Linked DNA regions of Homo sapiens: region 1 is linked to region 2. The links are contacts of gene promoters, found by promoter capture Hi-C in human tissues and cell types (Jung and others, 2019). All regions are on one chromosome and are shown on one strand. The core of a region is centred on a gene start or on the middle of the fragment in contact, and the rest is flanking DNA. Distances in the headings are between cores, read along the strand shown.

Region 1 (5,558 bases), core at 6-2,505, 280 kb after region 2:
CACAGGCCAGGCCAGCCCGGGCCTCCAGGCAGTAAGCGGAGGCCCCAGTAGTCGTAGTCTCTGAAAGGGCGAACTATATAGTCAGGGCTTGAGCATTAATCAAAACCACTCTACCCCAGCAGGGAACAAAGGGGTGAAGGCTCAACGCCCTAAGAACTGCAGAGCTTCAGGCCGGCTGGCACAAGCATGTGGCCCCAGGAGGAGCTGGGGAGTGGGTGGGGCCCCCACTGCCAGCCTTCACGTGGTTCGCTCTTGTCCTTCCAGCACTATTTCGACCCGGAGAACTGCAGGTTCCAACACCAGACGCTGGAAAACGGGTACGACGTCTACCACTCTCCTCAGTATCACTTCCTGGTCAGTCTGGGCCGGGCGAAGAGAGCCTTCCTGCCAGGCATGAACCCACCCCCGTACTCCCAGTTCCTGTCCCGGAGGAACGAGATCCCCCTAATTCACTTCAACACCCCCATACCACGGCGGCACACCCGGAGCGCCGAGGACGACTCGGAGCGGGACCCCCTGAACGTGCTGAAGCCCCGGGCCCGGATGACCCCGGCCCCGGCCTCCTGTTCACAGGAGCTCCCGAGCGCCGAGGACAACAGCCCGATGGCCAGTGACCCATTAGGGGTGGTCAGGGGCGGTCGAGTGAACACGCACGCTGGGGGAACGGGCCCGGAAGGCTGCCGCCCCTTCGCCAAGTTCATCTAGGGTCGCTGGAAGGGCACCCTCTTTAACCCATCCCTCAGCAAACGCAGCTCTTCCCAAGGACCAGGTCCCTTGACGTTCCGAGGATGGGAAAGGTGACAGGGGCATGTATGGAATTTGCTGCTTCTCTGGGGTCCCTTCCACAGGAGGTCCTGTGAGAACCAACCTTTGAGGCCCAAGTCATGGGGTTTCACCGCCTTCCTCACTCCATATAGAACACCTTTCCCAATAGGAAACCCCAACAGGTAAACTAGAAATTTCCCCTTCATGAAGGTAGAGAGAAGGGGTCTCTCCCAACATATTTCTCTTCCTTGTGCCTCTCCTCTTTATCACTTTTAAGCATAAAAAAAAAAAAAAAAAAAAAAAAAAAAAAAAGCAGTGGGTTCCTGAGCTCAAGACTTTGAAGGTGTAGGGAAGAGGAAATCGGAGATCCCAGAAGCTTCTCCACTGCCCTATGCATTTATGTTAGATGCCCCGATCCCACTGGCATTTGAGTGTGCAAACCTTGACATTAACAGCTGAATGGGGCAAGTTGATGAAAACACTACTTTCAAGCCTTCGTTCTTCCTTGAGCATCTCTGGGGAAGAGCTGTCAAAAGACTGGTGGTAGGCTGGTGAAAACTTGACAGCTAGACTTGATGCTTGCTGAAATGAGGCAGGAATCATAATAGAAAACTCAGCCTCCCTACAGGGTGAGCACCTTCTGTCTCGCTGTCTCCCTCTGTGCAGCCACAGCCAGAGGGCCCAGAATGGCCCCACTCTGTTCCCAAGCAGTTCATGATACAGCCTCACCTTTTGGCCCCATCTCTGGTTTTTGAAAATTTGGTCTAAGGAATAAATAGCTTTTACACTGGCTCACGAAAATCTGCCCTGCTAGAATTTGCTTTTCAAAATGGAAATAAATTCCAACTCTCCTAAGAGGCATTTAATTAAGGCTCTACTTCCAGGTTGAGTAGGAATCCATTCTGAACAAACTACAAAAATGTGACTGGGAAGGGGGCTTTGAGAGACTGGGACTGCTCTGGGTTAGGTTTTCTGTGGACTGAAAAATCGTGTCCTTTTCTCTAAATGAAGTGGCATCAAGGACTCAGGGGGAAAGAAATCAGGGGACATGTTATAGAAGTTATGAAAAGACAACCACATGGTCAGGCTCTTGTCTGTGGTCTCTAGGGCTCTGCAGCAGCAGTGGCTCTTCGATTAGTTAAAACTCTCCTAGGCTGACACATCTGGGTCTCAATCCCCTTGGAAATTCTTGGTGCATTAAATGAAGCCTTACCCCATTACTGCGGTTCTTCCTGTAAGGGGGCTCCATTTTCCTCCCTCTCTTTAAATGACCACCTAAAGGACAGTATATTAACAAGCAAAGTCGATTCAACAACAGCTTCTTCCCAGTCACTTTTTTTTTTCTCACTGCCATCACATACTAACCTTATACTTTGATCTATTCTTTTTGGTTATGAGAGAAATGTTGGGCAACTGTTTTTACCTGATGGTTTTAAGCTGAACTTGAAGGACTGGTTCCTATTCTGAAACAGTAAAACTATGTATAATAGTATATAGCCATGCATGGCAAATATTTTAATATTTCTGTTTTCATTTCCTGTTGGAAATATTATCCTGCATAATAGCTATTGGAGGCTCCTCAGTGAAAGATCCCAAAAGGATTTTGGTGGAAAACTAGTTGTAATCTCACAAACTCAACACTACCATCAGGGGTTTTCTTTATGGCAAAGCCAAAATAGCTCCTACAATTTCTTATATCCCTCGTCATGTGGCAGTATTTATTTATTTATTTGGAAGTTTGCCTATCCTTCTATATTTATAGATATTTATAAAAATGTAACCCCTTTTTCCTTTCTTCTGTTTAAAATAAAAATAAAATTTATCTCAGCTTCTGTTAGCTTATCCTCTTTGTAGTACTACTTAAAAGCATGTCGGAATATAAGAATAAAAAGGATTATGGGAGGGGAACATTAGGGAAATCCAGAGAAGGCAAAATTGAAAAAAAGATTTTAGAATTTTAAAATTTTCAAAGATTTCTTCCATTCATAAGGAGACTCAATGATTTTAATTGATCTAGACAGAATTATTTAAGTTTTATCAATATTGGATTTCTGGTCATTCTAACCCTAAAGTGTTTTCTTTCTTTCTTTCTTTCTTTTTTTTTTTTTTAAGATGGAGTCTTGCTCTGTCACCCAGGCTGGAGTGCAGTGGCGCGATCTCGGCTCACTGCAACCTCTGCCTCCCAGGTTCAAGCGATTCTCCTGCCTCAGCCTTCCAAGTAGCTGGGATTACAGGCACCTGCCACTGCGCCTGGCTAATTTTTGTAATTTTAGTAGAGACAGGGTTTCACCATCTTGGCCAGGCTGGTCTCGAACTCCTGACCTCGTGATCCACCCACCTCAGACTCCCAAAGTGCTGGGATTACAGGCATGAGCCACCGCACCCAGCCGTGTTTTCTTTAAAGAGGGAATTTTTATTTGGAAAATACACACCATCACAACCACGTCAGTATCTCAGTAAACCAAATGCTATGCACTAAACACATACACAGTGTTACCGTCCCGTGAGATTTGATAGCAGGACACCAAGATAATGAATCTACATTCTGAGACTGGTGTTCCCAGAGTTCCTTCTTTCAGAAGGAACTATGAAAAGGAGAGACTTTACATATGGGCATGAGCATTCACTACAGGTCCTTCGCCAAAGACTGGGTAGCACATGCACGAGGTAAGATACGGTGAGTCCTACAAAGGTCACCTGCTACAGCAGCAGGAGATAGATAGTGAGTGATACCAGATGCTATGCAATGTTGAAACACGTTAGAAATTCAACCACACCTGGGTGAAGAGACCTTACTGAGTGCCTCAGAACTCAAAAGGCTGTTCTTATAAGACTAAGCCCCAGAGGCAGGGGGTATATCCTAAAACTAAATTCAAAACTGAAACAGACTTGCTCTAAGTGAGAATTATACCAATCCTGGCAAACTACAAGGATCTACCAATAATGTAACTGACCGCCAGAAGAGAACTTAACACCTTTTAAAGGAAGAGGACATGATTCAGACTTAATACATGGTATCCTACACAATCAGTAATAGTAAAATAACTGGACATGAGAAGAAATAGGAAAAAAACATGTGCACAATCAAGAGAAAATGCAGTCACTAGAAACTAGTAAGGTGATCTAAAGATAGAGCTAATATAAATTATCTTATCTGAGTAACAGAGAAGAAATAAGTTTTTTGAAAATGAGTAGAACCTCAATGATCTGTGAGACCTTATTAAGCTGTCCAACATATGAGTAAGTTGAGTCCCAGAAGGAAAGGAGCACAAAGAACTGGGGAGTAAAAAATATTTGAAGATATGGTGGCTGAAAATTTCCCAATTATTGGTTAAAAATAAGTGTACTAATACAAGAAGCTCAGAAAACTCCAAGCAAGACAAATGCAAAGATCACAGTTATGTATATTGCAGTCAAACTGTTAAAAATCAAAAATCAACAGAAAATCTGAAAGCTACTGTAGACAAATGACACTTTATATATAGAGGAACAGCTATAATAGTAGTGGATTTCTTCTCATAACCATGGAAACTAGAAGACAATGGAATGATGTATTGAAAAGGTTGAAAGAAAATAAAAAGCTACCTACCCAGAATTACACATACAGCAAAAATGTCCTTCAAAATTAAGATGGAATAAAAATGGAGAGAAATTATTGCCATGCTGAAAAGGAGTAACACCAGATGGACATTTAGAATTACAGAAAGAAAACCATCATTAAATGTGTGAATACATTTAAACTATATATATTGTATACCTTCTTCCCTGATTTCACTAACAGGCTGCTTAAGGCAAAAATTATAACACTGTATGCAGGTTTTGTAACATATATAGATGTAATATATAAGGCAAAACTCCCACATAGGATGGGAGGGATAAATGAAACAATATGGTTACAAGATGATAACACTGTATGTAAAAATCTTACAATATTAACTCTAGACTGTGATAAATTAAGGATGCATATTGTAATCCCCAAAGTGACCACTAAAATACTCACAATAAGAAGTCAGGAGTGGTGATATGCACCTGTAGTCATAGCTACTCAGGAGGCTGAGGCTGGAGAATCACTTGAGCCTGGGAAGCGGAGGTTGCAGTGAGCTATGATCGTGCCACTGCACTTCAACTTGGTGACAGAGTCAGACCCTGTCTCTAAAAACAAAACATTTAAAAATAATAATAATTCAAAGAGGTGTAGGTAAAAAGCCAATAGAGATATTAACATAGGATACTAAAAAAATTCAGTTATTCCAAGGAAGGGAAGAAAGGAGGAGCAGGAGAATAAAAATCAAATGGGACAAACAGAAAAATGATAGACTAAACCAAATTATATTAATAATTACATTAAATATAAATGGGCCAAACACTATAACTAAAGACAGGAGTGGTCAAATTGGATTTAAAAAACACCCAACTATTTGTTTTGTACAAAACACATACTTAAAGAAAAGAATGGAAAGATACACAGTGAAGACATTCAATATAAAAAATATGAACTTACTATATTAATATCATAGAGAATAGGCTTCAAGTGAAGGAATACCGCATAAATAGAGGAACAATTCATAATAATAAAAGGGCTAATTCATCAGGAAGACGTAAAAATCCTAATGGCTCATGTCCCTAAAAACAAAGCAATAAAATACATGAAGAAAACTGACAAAACTGAAAAAATAGACAAGTTCAAATCTTAGTTAGAAATGGGAACACCCCTCTCTCAGTAACTGATTAAACAAATACACAAAAAATTAGTAAGGATACAGATATCTGGACATCATTAACTAACTTCATTT
Region 2 (6,036 bases), core at 3,537-6,036:
TACAGCACAGGGCAACAGCAAAAGACTCTCCTGGAACAGAATCTGAAACTGGTGACTAATGAAAAATAAGGTTGATGATACTGGTCGGAAGCAGATGATTATTAGTACAGAACATTAAAAAAAAAAAAAAAGAATGCAGTTCAATAGTTCAGACTTACTATAAAACCACTGAAGAACATCACAAATAATGATAAAAGGAGTGAAGTGCTTGAGAAAAGATATTCTGACTTTTAGAAAGTTTAACAGCAAGAGACTTGTCAAACATTCCACCATTTCTTTTTCATTGACTGAGGTTCTTGGTACTAGAATGAACCCTCAAAGTTCATGTACCAATGCTTACATCTTCTCTACAGCATGTGTGCAAAGAAATCATCTGGCTTTTGCCTGAACACCTGTGGAGTTGGGAAACTCACTACTTCCTGTAGCTGCCCATTCTGCTTTGAGCCATTCTAACAGAAAGAAAGTTCTACCACAAGGGGAATCAGTGACTGCTTCCCAGAAGTTTTTATCCCTGTGTTCCTCCAGAATGACAAAGAACAAGTCTAATCCCTCTTCTACAATTAAGTGTAGCAATTATAGCCCCACTAAATATTTTCTTCTCCAGGTTAAACATTCCCTGTCCTGTCAAATATTCTTCATATGGCAGGAATGAGAATCTCTTTTGGATACATTCCAGTTTTCAAGTTATTGCTAACTCCTTAGAATAGAATTTTAGAGTTAGCTGCTCAACTTTCATGTAAGTAGAAACAAAAAGGTTTAAAGTGCTAACGCACTTCTGCTCCAATCAACAAACTTCGGAGCTTAGCATTCGTGCTTTGTACACTTGGGAGAGGTGAAAGACACAAACAGGACTTTCTTTAGAAAATCTGTGTTTGTTTCTAGGGATGACTTTCAGGTGGCATTCTGCCCAAAGGTCATTGTTCTTCCCTATCCAAAAGTATTGAATTGGAGAAATAGCCTAGCTCACTGATAGTGACAGAAATTAAAAGTAAACATCATGGACCACACATCATAATAACAAAATAATAACATCATATTAACAGCTACCTTTACAGAGCTCTTGGCAGGTGTCCAGCATTATTCTAAGTGCTGCATAGGTATTATCTTTTTTAATGCTATCTTTATCACCACTTTATGGATAAGGTTAGTGACTAGCCCAAAGCACTAGTAAAGGAGATTAAAAAGCAGTCCCATGAGGTAGGAGAAAAACTCAGAAGGAAACAGAATCTAAAAACCCAAAATAAGAAACTGTTTCAAGGAGAGAATGGTTAACTTTACCAAATGCTGAAAGTGAAGTAGGAAGAGGACAGAGGACCACAGAAGCTGGAGGATGTGGCTGTAGGTGGCATAAATAAGAGCAATTTTATTGGATTAGTGGGACTGAAAGCCAGACTGGAGCAAACAAGAGAGGCTGTGAGGCAAGGAAGTAGATGAGGAGTATACACAATCCTTCTGAAAAAGGAGAAATGGAACTAGAGAAAACAAGGACAGGAATAGGTTTGTTTGTTTGTTTTAAATATGAGTTAACATTTATGTGCTGATGGAAATGACATGATTTCCATGGTAGAGGTAGAAAATTACTGATTCAGGAAAGGGAATGAATAGTTGAGAGAGGATAAGATTGAATGCAAAGTGAAGGAACTGGCCACAGATTGGAACAGAAGGAGCTCACCCACTGTAACAAGAGAAAAGGCAAAGAATTATCACATATCAACTATTAGAGTTTATGGTGGGAAAATGACTGTTCTCATCTGATTCCTTTGATTTCTCTGTAAAGCTGAGAATGAGACAAAAGCACATGTTAGAGGTTTTAGGAAACTCGCTATGTTAAGTAATGATTATGGAGACAAGGAAACCAAATTTCCTAGAAAAATGTAGCACTGAAAATCTACTTGAGATTTGTATTCATGAATTTAAAATAAGGCCAGTTAGTCTGAAGTTTTCCCTAGCCCCGTTCTCCATTGCTCAGTGGCAGGCAGCAAATTACGTGGAAAGTTTTGTTTAATCAGGGTCAATGTTTTTTACGACAATGGGAGTTGGGCTGGGGAGTTGAGGATGCATAAAAGGGAATGATAAGAGTGAAGAGTAAGGAAATGAGGACATAGGATAAGACAGGCAAAAGATGGCAGAGTCAATGAACTGGGAAGAATTACTTGAGTTGAGGAATTAATACCTCAAAGGACTGTTAAGAGGATTAAACATACATAAACCACGTAGCACATTACCTAGAGCACATTAAGCATTCTATGAATAATAGTTGCTTTTATTACTTTGAAATTTCTCAGAAGGTAATGTCACACTAACCTCACATGGCTATTGTTTTTTTTTAATAATTATGGGCCAAGAATTATTCTAGAAACTGTGACTATCACAGTAAAATACAAAACCCTGGCTTCATGAAGCTCACAGTTTAAAGGGTTAATGAGAATAACATATGGGCAAGCATCTGTCACAGTGCCTTGCAAATACTAGGTGCTCAATAAATATAAATTATTACTCTCTTTGGTTCCAGCCTCTCCACTTTCTTCCATTTATTATGAGTACTATTAGAAGAATGATATTCTTTATTAATTATATATTCATTATATTTCTCTGCTTAAAAACCTACATTAGTTTCCTACTGCAATACCCAAACCAATAGTCCAGACATATTTGCTTGCACACTGCATTAATTTTTTTAAGTATTTATTTAAAAAATTATATGCACGTTCTATGTAGTACCAATATGATATACACATTATAAATCATACATTACTTAGAATAGTGTGTGGCATACAGTTTAAACTACATAAGTGTTAGCTATTATTACTATAGAAAGCAATTTTTAGGAGTTCTAATTTATATTTCCACAACTTATTAGGTCCTCTTGCACAACTCCCTTTGGAGACTACCGATCTAAACTCTGCTTGGCTTTCAAAGGTCTCCATTGTCTGATCCCATCTAACACATTCAACCTCCTTTTCCACTATCCCAGATATTCAGGTAGTCATTTCACTGCCTCTTGAATACCTCATGACTCCATTCTCACCCACTTGTCTTTGCCAGAGGACTTTCCAGATCATAACAGCCCTAAAGAGACCAGTGGGAGCACTACAATTCTCCACTGGTCTTCCAATCATCCCTCAGTACCTCAAATGATACTAATCTTTCCCTTTTATGATTTCCTGTGATACTTAATAGTCTTGCCACACTTAACTATATATAGTTGTCTTACACAGTTCTGTCCTATAGTGTGTGGATTATGTTACATACTAGACTTGCCTCTACAGAATTTACTCAAAAACTTACTTTACCAGACAATAACGCAGAGTGGTTAAGAACACAAGCTATGGTGTCAGTCAGAGGAAAGTAAGTTAAAAGAGGAAAATTAATAAAAATACCTAGAACTGGAGATTGCAGATAGCAGGTACTCAATAAATAGTGATTACCATTCACAATCTACATTACGTCATACAATTGTAATAGTTTAACAAGAACCAGCAAATGTCTTTGCAAAGACATTGTGACTACAAAACCATCCACTATAAGTGATGTGCACCACCACCTTCCCAGTGGTATGCAGGAGTTCTACCCAAGATGGAAAACAAAAAAAAAAGGATCCTCTAAACACTCCTAATTCTTGCCTCAGGCTGAACATCAAGCCTATCTGTGGTGCTTTTAAAAATTTAAGGTGCAAGGAGCTAATCTCACAAATTCTGACTCAATAGCTCTACACTCAGTCCTCATTTCTAATTTTTATAAAGCTTTACGAGTGATTCTGACATGAGCCAATTTTGAAAGCAAATGATATTCTGTAACGACTAAAATACACTAAGAAAAATACAACTTTGGGGGTTTGATTGGAATATGTTTGTGGAAGAGTAGAGGGTGAAAGGACAATGATGAAGTGTAACCGTATTTCTAATTTCCTTGCTTTTTAGTGAGTGGAAGGACAAATGTATGTTTTCAGTTTGAGGAGTGGGAGCAGATCCAATCAGAACAGAAGAGAAACTAAATAATGCTAACAAATTCTAACATAGCCTTCATTCTTCACTTTCCTTTCCACCAAGCTCCTGATTCTTCTCTCCTCAAACATCACTCTCTCCCCCAGACCCCAACGCACTTTGCCGAACACATTCTACATCCGTAGAGACGCTTTTGGGTAAAAGGATGCTTTTACAAATATTAGCTCATTTAATCTTATCAGAGACTCCCTGGTATTGTAATATTATCATTTCCATTGTGCTCATATGAATTGAGACCCATTAAGGGTTTGCACAAGGTCATAAAATCAATCTAAGAAAACCTCTCGCCACTAGCCTTTTTTCCCTCCCTTACACATTTCTCCCCCCGCCCCATACAAATATTTCTCATAACCCTAAACCCTTACAACCATATCAGAATTCTGATTCTCTCGATCCCTAACGTGTCCCCCGCATTCTCCTCTTCGCTTACAGCTGCTTAAGATCTTTTGTCCCCTCCCAAGGTGGTGCACAATTGAATATGTGAGCCGGGGAAGCGGAAAGCGAAAGGAGAAACCAGACTGAGGCAGCTCCAAACCTAGAGAAACCAGAGTGTGCCTAGGAAGTTGGCGTGACCGCTGCAGCACGGTGCCACTTCCAAAACCTTAAATCCCCGTCTCGGAATCCCGACCAGGGGCCGCCGTTCCCGGTAACACTTACGTGACATTGACAGGACCCGGACAACCCGGGATTGTGCGGCAGCCGCCATCTTTTCCCACAATCCCCCACGACAGCACTCCCGGCTGACTACGGCTGCTAAGCTGGGTCAAAACTTACCTTTCTCGCCTGTCTGCGCAAGCGCTAACCAAGAAACGACGGTTTCGGGTAGATTGTTGGTTAAGAAGAAAGCTGGGAAAGTGAAGGAGAGGGGGAAGAAAGGAAGTGAAAAGACTTTGGCTGTTGGAATCTCAGATCTGGAATAGGCTGTATAGGCTATTTATAATCTCTAATTGCCGAGGAACCTGAAGTTCAGAGTTAACCAGTGACTGACTCAGGACATGCAAAATGGCAAGACCCGAGGTAGAAGAGCTCACCTTTCCTGACTCTCAGTTTCCTGTTCCCTGAAAATGTAAGCTAAGCTGGCAGCCCTGGTGAGTCCGGAGGAAGAAGGAGGCGTAGCCCTCCGCGCTCAGGAGATCCAGGGCCCAGGAGAGAGAAAAGGGGGGACAAGAACGAGGGGAAAAGTGGAGAAGAGAAACCAAAATAGGGTGTGTCCCAAGTAAATAAATGTGCGTCGAGCCCGCCAAGCACATTCTCTCATAGGGACCCTTGCGCCTGCTGTTCGCGTTTCCTGGAATGCACACTCAGGTGTCTGCACCAGCTCAAGTCTCTGCTCAAAAGTGACCTCTTCGGATAAAACTTCTCTGACCATCCTATCCAAGGTGGTAATTATTCCACCAATTTTTGGTTTAAGTTTATATACCAAAGCACTTATCACCAACTAGCATATGAATCTAGGAGTTCTTAACCAGAAGTGTGATTCATGAGTGGGCTTCGGGAAATCTGTGAACTTCCTGAAATATTATGCAAATTTAGTGGCCATGTGTGCCATCTGAACATCTGTCTAAGGAGAAACTGCAGATGGCTCTCTCTAGCGCAATGGCTTGTAATTTTTTCTTTAACTGTGGTCACCTTTGAGAATCTGCATTGTTCTACAAAGAGCCATCTAGAAACTGAGGAAATTCCAGGTTAGACTAAGCGCTTGGATTTTAAAATACTTTATTCTGGTCAACCTCTCCAGATTGCTGGGTAGGAGATGGCAACCAGTGATCCTGTGAAACATACCTTAGGCTTATCAGAAAACCACCTAGTTTGGGGAGGGCGGGTTCTTTCTAGACTTGGTAATCCTTCCAGTGCTTTGTTTTTTCAGGAAAAGTATGTGTTTCTGGGATAGACAAAAAGGCCTGTGATGAGTAGGGATGTAGAAGTTGCTTATTACTAGGCTTGAAATCTTGGCTGTTTCCACTCTATCTTGCCCCTACTGTTTACTGAAGTGTCGCCTAACAAATTGAATTGGAAGAGAGAAAAAAACCTT

What was found. The method cuts DNA at HindIII sites, captures the fragments that hold promoters and counts their contacts. A contact is called where the count stands out against the background at its distance.
Region 1: a fragment that was not itself captured here is called in contact with the fragment with the promoter of AKAP3 in region 2 in 2 of the 25 tissues and cell types used here (H1 embryonic stem cells and mesendoderm cells).

The regions. Positions count from the first base shown.
Region 1 is chr12:4,365,490-4,371,047 of GRCh38, reverse strand. It overlaps FGF23 (fibroblast growth factor 23), which reads left to right. Exons shown (of 3, transcript NM_020638.3): 3 at 265-2,821. The coding sequence ends at 705. Among named protein-coding and RNA genes, the nearest start is that of FGF23, 11 kb to the left of the region's middle. The HindIII fragment of the contact is 4,544 bases long and covers 1-3,527 here.
Region 2 is chr12:4,647,801-4,653,836 of GRCh38, reverse strand. AKAP3 (A-kinase anchoring protein 3) reads left to right here and starts at 4,786. Exons shown (of 6, transcript NM_001278309.2): 1 at 4,786-5,092. NDUFA9 (NADH:ubiquinone oxidoreductase subunit A9) reads right to left here and starts at 4,723. Exons shown (of 11, transcript NM_005002.5): 1 at 4,662-4,723. The coding sequence starts at 4,710. RefSeq lists enhancers at 4,298-4,953, 4,822-5,031, 5,312-5,361. The HindIII fragment of the contact is 5,598 bases long and covers 1-4,898 here.